Regions from separate parts of the Homo sapiens genome. Here regions 1 and 3 are each linked to region 2. Evidence: promoter capture Hi-C in human tissues and cell types (Jung and others, 2019). All regions are on one chromosome and are shown on one strand. Each heading gives the region's core, a stretch centred on a gene start or on the middle of the fragment in contact. The rest is flanking DNA. Distances are from core to core; before and after follow the strand shown.

Region 1 (3,236 bases), core at 19-2,518, 330 kb before region 2:
CCCCGCCCTCTGGCTCCTCCCCGACACTCTCTCCCCGCCCCAGGCTCCGCCCCGAGATTGCAGCCCAGTCCCTAGGCCCGGTCCCCGACCTCCGGGCCTTCCCGGACATCCCTTTCCAGCTGCGCGTTCGGAGTATCCCGGAGCTGTTACTCATTCCCGGCCTCCCGCGGTCTCGAGCGCTTTCCGGGTTATTCATCGCGGCCCCAACACCCTGTGGCCACCCGCCCTGACTCAGTTCCTTCTCGAATTCCTCGACCCAGAGCCCCCCACATTTTCCGGGGAAGTAAGTGAGAGTCGCCTCAGTGAGAGGGAAAGGTCCTGAGGGACAGTCCCGGGTCTCCAGCACTGGCTCTGCGCCGCTCAGTCAGCCTCCCTTTGGGCCTTTTGTAAAAGGGGGTCCTGTCCCCCCGTTTCTCAGAGGGGGAGACCCAGCAGCGTGGAGAGCGCTGGGGGGCGCTGCAGGGTCAGATCCTGCGTATTCAAGCACTGGCTGTGTGATTTTAGGCCAGTTATCTAACCTCTCTGTGCCCTAGTTTCCTCTGCGAAACGAAATTAATAAAGTCCCATCGCCTAGTTTGAAATTGCAAGGAAGAGGCTTCGAAGAACTCCATTTAAAAAAAGAACACTTGGGCCGGGCGCGGTGGCTCACGCCTGTAATCCCAGCAGTTTGGGAGGCCGAGGCAGGTGGATCATCTGAGGTCAGGAGATTGAGACCATCCTGGCTAACAGAGTGAAACCCGGTCTCCACTAAAAATACAGAAATTAGCCGGGCGCGATGGCAGGCGCCTGTAATCCCAGCTACCCAGGAGGCTGAGGCAGGAGAATCGCTTGAACCCGGGCGGCAGAGGTTGCAGTGAGCCGAGATCGCGCCACTGCACTCCAGCCTGGGCGACAGAGTGAGACTCTGTCAAAAAAAAAAAAAAAAAAAAAAAAGCACTCACTAAATTATGTAAAGCTAAATGCCTTTGCTCCACTAATATTTCCTTAGCTACTGAGTGCCAGGTACTGCGCCGCGTGGCGTTGCACAAAGCACGAGAATTACTATTATTTGATTAGGGAGGATGCTGAGGACTGAACCGCATTCCTCCAACTCATCCTCTGACAACCCCCAACCCCCTCAATTAGACCCTGTTCCAGGCGCAGGCGTTCGGGACCCAGCCCCTACCTGGGACGCAGGTGTGGAGCAGCAGCAGCAGCGGCAGCAGCGGCGGGTGACCCATGTCGCGAGGGCAGCTCCTGTGCGCGGGGTCCCTGCACGTCTTCTCTCCTTCTGGCCTCAGGAAGGAGGCAGTTTTGTGGCCCCAGGGACTCCTCCCAGACGTTTTGCGAAAGAGCGAGTCAGCCCCAGATGCGTGGGCGCCTCCCCCTCCTCCCGTACGAACCTCCTCCGCCACAAACTTCCCTTCCCGGGGCGCGGCCGGCTGGTGGTGAAGGGGCTGGCTCGGCCCTGACTCATGGAGTTGTGATCACAGCTCTGTCCCCAGATTGCCTGGGTGCAAATCCCAGTTCTCTCTCTTCCTAACGTGGGACCCGGGGCAATCGCTCTCCACTGCTGTAAAATGAGGATAAAAACTTTGACGGTAAATATGAATGTGGCTGATTATTTGGCTAACAGGATTTTTGTTAGTTTTGTCAGGAGGGATACTGGTATTTTGGAAAATGTCCTTATCTAGAGATGCATCCTGAAATATGCATCTCTTAAACACTTAAAACACTTAACCCTTGCTTTGCTTCCCGCTGTGCCCCCAGCTCCTGGACCAGTGCCCAGCACGAAGTAGGTCCTTGGTAAATGTTAAAGGAATGTGTTGAGCCCTCCATTTTGGCCAGCAGCTATTCCAGGCATTGCACCTACATTAAAACACTTAATGGTGAAACCCCGTCTCTACTAAAAATACAAAAATTAGCCGGGCGTAGTGGCGTGTGTGTGTTACTTAGGAGGCTGAGGCAGGAGAATCGCTTGAACCCGGGAGGCGGAGGTTGGGTTGCAGTGAGCCGAGATCGTGCCACTGCACTCCAGCCTGGCAACAGAACAAGACTCCTTCTCACAGAAAAAAAAAAAAAAAAAAAAAAAGACACTTCAGCCAAAAAAGTAGATATCACTGTTACGACAATGGCTGTATGCTTAGGTGGGATTCTGGTTTTTGTTTGTTTGTTTGTTTTTGCAGATGCTTACTAGAGTATTTAGTGGTGAATGTTATTGATGTCTGCATTTTTTGTTGTTGTTGTTTTGGGGATTTTTGTTTTGTTTTTTCTTTTTCTTTTGTTTTCATTTTGATGTCTGTATTTATTTTATAATATTTTAGAAGAGGTCAGATGAGGTGGCTCATGCCTGTAACACCAATGCTTTGGGAAGCCAAGGCAGGAGGATCACTTGGGGCCAGGAGTTCAAGATCAGCTTGGGAAACATAAAGAGCCCTCATCTTTCCAAAAGAAATTAAAAATAAAATAAAATTAGCTGGGTGCAGTGGCCCGTACTTGTAGTCCTAGGTAGTTGGGAGGCTAAGGTGGGAGGACCGCTTGAACCTGGGAACTGGAAGCTGCAGTGAGCTATGATTGCACCACTGCACTCCAACCTGGGCAACAGAGCGAGACCCTGTCTCAAAAAAATAATAAATAAATAAATACTTGAGTAGAAAATAAAGGCAAAATAGCCAAATGGTTGTATCAATTATATAAAGGTAATCAGTATATAAGGGCATATTATGCCATTCTGTCTCCTTTTCTGTGGGTTTGAAAAGGCTTATAATAAGTTTTTTCTTTCTTTTTATTATTTATTTATTTATTTATTGAGACGAAGTCTCACTCTGTCACCCAGGCTAGAGTGCAGTGGTGCAATCTCGGCCACTGCAATCTCCGCCTCCTGGGTTCATGCAATTCTCCTGCCTCAGCCTCCTGAGTAACTGGGATTACAGGGGCACGCCAGCACACCCGGCTAATTTTTGTATTTTTAGTAGAGATGGGGTTTCACCATGTTGGTCAGGGTGGTCTCGAACTCCTGACCTCAGGTGATCCACCTGCCTTGTCCTTCCAAAGTGCTGGGATTACAGGCATGAGCCACTGCACCTGGCCAAGTTTTTTTTTTTTTTAAGTAAAATAAAATACTAAAGATAAAATTGTCTCCCCGTCTTAGGATGCATCTAACTAAACAGAGCAATTTAATGTAGGTGCAATGCCTGGAATAGCTGCTGGCCGAAATGGAGGGCTCAACACATTCCTTTAACATCTACCAAGGACCT
Region 2 (3,589 bases), core at 128-2,627:
ATATTGGTTTATAGGCCAATGTATGTTTATAGGGAGAAAAAAAGTTACCTTCAAAAGAGCAGGTTTTTAGATGAATTGTTTCCTAATTTAGCTTTATACTGTTATTATTTTTTAACCAATGCCAGTTTTTAAATTGCTAACTATAATAAAGAAATTATGTTTCACCAAGAAATAAGAAGAAACTTAAAAAAAAAAATCTTTAATTATTGAGGTATCTGTTGCCTAGGCTGGAGGGCAGTGGTGGCATCATAGCTCACTGCAGCCTCAATCAAACTCCTGGGCTTCAGCAATCCTCCCACCTCAGCCTCCTGAGTACTTGGAACTTGTAGTCCCAAGATCAGGCCACCATGCCTGGCCAGTTAAAAAAAAATTTTTATAGAGACGAAGTCTCCCTGTATTTCCCTGTCTGGTCTCCAATTCCTGAGCTCAAGGGAACGTCCTGCCCTGGCCTCCCAAAGGGTTGGCATTACAGGTTTGAGCCACTGCGCTTGGCCAGGAAGAAAACTCTTTATAAGACATGCTCCTTCACCTATAGAATCCTCCCGTTTTACTGCATTTACAATCTCAATGTAAGATTGATACCAATGCCTAGCTCTTCATCAGTCATTATTGCTCTGAGGTACTGAGCAATTCACTACATTCGCTGAAATTTGATGTTTCTACATCTAAGGAGAAATATGAATACCATGAAAAGTTTATGGGAAGATAGCTATTCCATGACGACACCGCTTCTCCACTAGTAGCTGTGATCTTAAATGGGGGTGGCTTTTCCTGCCAAACCAGTGGTCCCACAGCTTCTGGAGTAGGGGCTGGTGTCTTCCTGCTCCTCATTGCCCCTGCCAAACCATTCCACCTGGCTCATCCTTTAAACCGTTAGTTTTAACCTCCCATCGTCAGATTATCCTAATCCTTGAAGATTTTATCTCCTCGTTTGTTCTCTTCCCAATAACACTCCTGTCATCGTGGGAGGCGTTTAGACTTCAGGAATTCCTGTCTATACACTATTTTCGCTCAAAGACTCAGGAAGAGAGACGGACGACTCACAGGGTCACAGTCCACATTCCCCACCAGGCGCTCAGAGATATGGAATACGTTCCCGGTGGGCACTGCGGTGTGTGTAGTCAAGGACCACCGCGGAGTCCAACGCTTCCCGCTGAAGAGTGAGATTATAGACATTTTCCTTTGGCATTGGAGGAAGCGGAGTCCAGACACACTCTGAGTCGCGGGCAAGTTGGCTCAGGCGGGTGGACGAGTGAATTCTGGGAACTGTAGTCCATCAACTTCATGGAATGGCGGACCCTTTGGCTCAAGCAGTTGAACCGGGGAATTCTGGGAAGTGGAGTCCAGACGCTCTGTGGAGACGCGAGCACTTCCGGTGTGTGAGCCTGCGGTTGCTACATAACCGCGTAGTTTGAGCCATTTCTGCGTCTGGCGGGTCCTTCTGAACTTGTCACCTTCGCTTGGGGTCGCAACGACCCGATGATCGATGATCCAAGCAAGGGAAAAGAAGCCTTGGCGGAGAGCGGAGGTTTGGTGGGGGCGGGGAATGGGGTTTTTTTCCCGTCCACGGAAGCTTTCTGGGATGGGGGTGCTGTGCTCGCATCCCGGGGGTTGGAATTGGCGGGGTCCTCTGTGCCCTGCTGTGAGCGTTTCCAGGACTTTGACCTCGCTCAGCCTGCCTCTCTCCACCCTACCTGTGCGACCGCTTTCTCGCAGTGTGACGTGGAGTGTTACTCAATGTCCTTATACTTTCCATTGCTGTTTTTGGTAATGGGGACATTAGAACCATCCTAGTAGAATCGTTTTTGGGAACTGAAAGAGATAACGCAAATGAGAACCTTAAAGCAGTCCCTGTCACTTGGTGACTGGTGGTCTCTTGTTAACTTCCCGAAGAGGTCAGGTCCCCGGGTGGAGTCATAGCTTCAGCTGCAGGGGCCCTGGTCCTTCTCCCTAATCCCTGCAGGACGCTGGATGATCCCGGGAGGCCTTCTGACCTCTTTTTAGGAAAGCGAGTTGCGTCCGCTTCCACGAAGGGCGGGGAGCATTTAACTTTTATGGGGGACCGCGATGCAGTCAGGGTATTTCACAACTTTCGCCTTCCCCAGCCTGACCTTTCTAAAAGAGCTGCAGGGAGGGGACTTCTTGGCTACTGAGGGCAAATCTCTATGTGATTGGTCCTTGGCTTTTTTCCTTTATAGAGATGTTCACCCAACCGAGAGTGTGTCCTCGGGAATGGGTGTTGATAATCATTAAGCCGTAATTGGTAACTTCATTCTAAGTGCTTTATACAAATAAATTTAGGCCACACTGTGGCTCTGTGAAGTATTGCTTTTCTTTGTTTTAAAAATGAGAGTGAGACACAGGGTGCATAGCAGCCAACTAGTGAGAGGTAGAGCTGGGGTTGGCACCTAGGCAGTCCAGGTCAGAGCCTGAGTTGATCACCTCTTGGATACATTCTCATTGAGGCAGAGGAACTAGCTGGACTCGTAGGGAAAGCAAGTTAGGACCTGATTGAAAGGACGTTGAGAGCAAGGCTCGTGGGCTTGGACGTCTAGGAATTTTTAAAAATTTCTCAACTATTTTGTTTCATGTTTTCCAAGTATTTCGTACTGTTGTGGAACTGTATCATTGTGGAAAAGTCTGAAATAGGAGAAATGAGAGTAGAAAAAGTTTTTTAATTACCCATGTATCCAAGATGTAAAGGTAGTAACTGTTAAGCTTCTAATTGATTTCTTTTGTCTTTCTTTGTGTCTACTTCTATATTTGTTGATAAACATTTTTTTAAAAATTGTTATATTTTAATGTGTTTTCCCATATGTCTTTTAACTATAGAAAATTTTAAATATTGCTAATAGAGACTAAACTAGTGAGGCTGGTTGTGGTGGCTCATGCCTATAATCCCAGCACTTTGGGAGGCCAAGGCAGGTGGATCACTTGAGGTCAGTAGTTTGAGACCAGCCTGGCCAACATGGTGAAACCCCATCTCTACCAAAAATACAAATATTAGCCGGGCGTGATGGCACGTGCCTGTAGTCCCAGCTACTCTAGAGGCTGAGGCAGGAGAATTGCTTAAACCCGGGAGGTGGAGGTTGCAGTGAGCCAAGATCACGCCACTGCACTCCAGCCTGGGCAACAGAGTGAGACTCAAAAAAAAAAAAAAAAAAAAGAATAAACTAGTGAACTGCCATATTATATAATGCTCAATTTTATTATTCCCATTATCCTTATGACTATTTCCTGATATCTAAAATATTTTTGCTGGGCGCGGTGGCTCACGCCTGTAATCCCAGCACTTTGGGAGGCCGAGGCGGGTGGATCACGAGGTCAGGAGATCGAGACCATCCTGGCCAACATGGTGAAACCCCATCTCTACTAAAAAAAAAAATACAAAAAATTAGCTGGGCATGGTGGCAGGCAGTTGTGGTCCCAGCTACTCCAGAGGCTGAGGCAGGAGAAAGGCGTGAGCCCGGGAGGCGGAGCTTGCAGTGAGCGAGATCGCGCCACTGCACTCCAGCCTGGGCTAGGGAGCGAGACTCTGTCTCAAAAAAAAAAAAATTAAAAACTAAAAACAAAATAAAATATTTTCATC
Region 3 (3,276 bases), core at 737-3,236, 360 kb after region 2:
CTGCCCCAGCCTCCCGAGTAGCTGGGATTACAGGCATGCGCCACCACGCCCAGCTAATTTTTGTATTATCAGTAGAGATGGGGTTTCACCACATTGGCCAGGCTGGTGTTGAACTCCTGACCTCGTGATCCACCCGCCTCAGCCTCCCAAAGTGCTGGCATTACAGGCGTGAGCCACTGCATGTGGCCTACAGTTCTTTTTCTGCTCTTTCAGAAATCTAGCTACCAACTCTACAATATGCTAATTTTTCTTTTCAAATAATTGATAAGGTTTCTATCTTCTCAGTGGACCCTAAATTACAAACTTGTTTAGAAATTAATCAAACCACTTTTAAGTAATCCATAGATAAAAGACTGTGGCATTGAAATTTGGTGTCATCAGTGAATTCTACCAAATATTTAAAGAAGAAACCATGTTCATCTCAAAATTATTCCTGAGAATAACAAAATAGGAAACACTTTCCAACTAACTTTATGAGGCCACTGTAATAACACTGACAAAATTTGTGAGAGGCTTCATTAGAATGGAAAATGACAGGTCTGGCCAGGCACGGTGGCTCATGCCTGTAATCCCAGCACTTTGTGGGGCTAAGGCAAGCAGATCATGAGATCAGGAGATCCAGACCATTCTGGCTAACACAGTGAAACCCCGTTTCTACTAAAAATACAAAAAAAAAGCCGGGCATGGTGGCACGTGCCTGTATTCCCAGTTATTTGGGAGGCTGAGGTGGGAGAATCGCTTGAACCTGGGAGATGGAGATTGCAGTGAGCTGAGATCGTGCCACTGCACTCCAGCCTGGGTGACAGAGGAGACTCCATCTCAAGAAAAAAAAAAAGAAAAGAAAAAAGAAAGAAAAAGAAAATGACAGGTCTATCTCGTCATAAATATACTTTCAAAAATGCTAAACAAAATGTTGCCAATGATATATAAAAGGGCAACCTAGGTATCAGAGAAAAAAAAAGTTTGATTAATCACCCATTTATCATAAGAAAATTTAGGCAACTAAGCAATAGTAAAGATCTACAAAAATGGCAACAAATATCAAAAGGAATAGTGAAATATTGAAAACATTTCCTCTATGATGGGGAACAAAATAATGATGTCCACCCCAATCATTTCTACTAAATACCACATTTGCTCCTTTATCCTGCAATCTTGCCAACTAATCTAATTAATTTTAATATTTTATGTGTAGATCTTTTGAATTTTATATGCATGCTCATGTTGACTTCAGATCTGCAACAAATGGGGCGCTGCAGCAACATGGGAACAGGGAAAATATTCAATACATGTTGCTGTTAAATTGAGTATTGTGAAATAAAACTGAAATTGACCTATACCTCCCACTATATGCAACAATCTAAGGCTGGTGGATTGTAGAGCCCGATTTGAAAAGCATTTCTTATGACACTTAAATCTACTCAGTGTATAAACCTATAAGAAATGTGTACCAAAATACACATATAAGAATGTTCATAGCAGGATCATTCATCACAATGACATGCTGAGAATACTCCAGATGTCTATCGATGATAGTATGGATAAATATTTTTGTTATTTACACAAGGTAAAAGCAAGGACATTGAACAAACTTTAGCTGTACATGCAATACCATGATGACTCCCATAAATATGTTGAGCAAAATAACTAGACAAACCCAGTAGATGCAGTGTGATTCCACTTGTACGAAGTTCATTAGACATGCAAAATTCATCAATAGGATGATTTTGGACACTTAAATAGTAAAAATATGAAGAAAAGCAAGGGAATCTTAAAACTTAGGGTAGTGGTTTCTTTTTATGGGGAAGAAAGCATCATGATGCTGTGAGAGTGGGGTGTTTGCAATTCTACCATGCTTCAATTTTTGTTGTGGGTGGTGATTATACAGCTGTTCATTTTATATTCATACTTTCACATGTATATTTATGATTCAGACACTTTTCTGAATGTGAGTGATATTTCAATCTGTAAAATCAATGATATATGACCAACAAACTGTGGTGCATCAATACAATAGAGTATTATTCAGCCATAAAAAGAAATGAGATATGAAGTTATGAAAACACATGGAATAACCTTAAATTCATATTGTTAATGGAAAGCAGCCAGTCTGTCAAAGCTACGTACTGTAATTCAACTATATGATAATCTGGAAAAGGCAAAACTAAAGGTCAGTAAAGTGATCAGTGGTTGTTAGAGGTTCAGGGAGATTAATTGATAGAGCACAGGGTATTTTTAAGCAGTGACACTATTCTGTGTGATACAGTATGGTTGATATAGGACATTATGCTTTGTCAAAACCCATGGAATGTACAACACAAAGAGTAAGCCCTAATGTAAACCACAGACTTTAATAATAATGTATCAAAATTGGTTCATTAGTTGTAATAAATATGCCACACACATGCAAGATGCAAACAATAGGAGAAACTGGGCAGGGGAAAGGAGAGTATATGGGAAATATTAATACTTTCTCAGTTTTTCTGAGCAGTTTTCTGTAACCCTAAAACTGCTCTTAAAATAAAGTCTATTTTAAAAAATCAATGATATGTTTCAAAGGAAACTGAATATATGGCATAGAACTTTTTCAGAACTTAGAGGGAAGGGCTAAAAATAATGAGAAACTCTATAATGAATATGAACATACTGATCAGGTGTATCTTATAAGCTAATGAGAAAAAATGAGGATTAGAGAAGGAAGCAGATTGTAATAAATAAATCATTAAGAAAGAATAAACAATTTATCCACATGGGCAAAATCTCATATTGGAAGGAGGAGAAGAAGATGGAGGAGAAGGGGGAGGAAGGTGAGGGTATGTAGGAGGAGGAGAAGTAGGAGGAGGAAGAGTAAGAGAAAAAGGAGGAAGAGACTCGTAGAGATGCACTTGCAGACATTGAGAAATTTTTTAATGGCAAGGCTGAAGACTAAAGAATTGAGTCAATTTCAAAGGAATGAAAAAATAAGCTTTGCATTTTAATTATTGTCTGCAACATTAAAAGTACTAATAAAATATAAAAATAATCTATGGGATTTTTGAGGTGAAAAGATTGATCCTTCTATGGTCAGAGAATGTTTTGTTCATGTGCACTATTCTTGGCATACAAGATTCAGTTGTGAATCACTTCTAAATTCTTTCCGGAAAATATTCTTCAAGACATATTACAGGCCTTTGACAACAACACAGATAAAGCGTCCACAGACCGTCTTCCTAGTTTATTTACATAGAAATGCTGGATAAAATGTGAATGTGAAAATATCATTTATTTGAATAGGAG

The links. The method cuts DNA at HindIII sites, captures the fragments that hold promoters and counts their contacts. A contact is called where the count stands out against the background at its distance.
Region 1: the fragment with the promoter of PLAUR here is called in contact with the fragment with the promoter of ZNF230 in region 2 in 1 of the 25 tissues and cell types used here (IMR-90 fibroblasts).
Region 3: a contact is called between a fragment that was not itself captured here and the fragment with the promoter of ZNF230 in region 2, in 1 of the 25 tissues and cell types used here (stomach).

Annotation. Positions count from the first base shown.
Region 1 is chr19:43,668,901-43,672,136 of GRCh38, forward strand. It overlaps PLAUR (plasminogen activator, urokinase receptor), which reads right to left and starts at 1,269. Exons shown (of 7, transcript NM_002659.4): 1 at 1,166-1,269. The coding sequence starts at 1,220. LOC124904724 (a long non-coding RNA gene) reads left to right here. Exons shown (of 3, transcript XR_007067264.1): 1 at 1-283; 2 at 1,126-1,580. RefSeq lists a silencer at 38-117 and an enhancer at 1,038-1,337. The HindIII fragment of the contact is 20,050 bases long and covers 1-3,236 here.
Region 2 is chr19:44,001,580-44,005,168 of GRCh38, forward strand. ZNF230 (zinc finger protein 230) reads left to right here and starts at 1,378. Exons shown (of 5, transcript NM_006300.4): 1 at 1,378-1,528. ZNF230-DT (ZNF230 divergent transcript) reads right to left here and starts at 1,291. Exons shown (of 3, transcript NR_110727.1): 1 at 686-1,291. RefSeq lists an enhancer at 1,141-1,650. The HindIII fragment of the contact is 9,118 bases long and covers 1-2,145 here.
Region 3 is chr19:44,359,434-44,362,709 of GRCh38, forward strand. It overlaps a transcript of ZNF112 not described here. Among named protein-coding and RNA genes, the nearest start is that of ZNF112, 4.4 kb to the left of the region's middle. The HindIII fragment of the contact is 6,327 bases long and covers 1-3,276 here.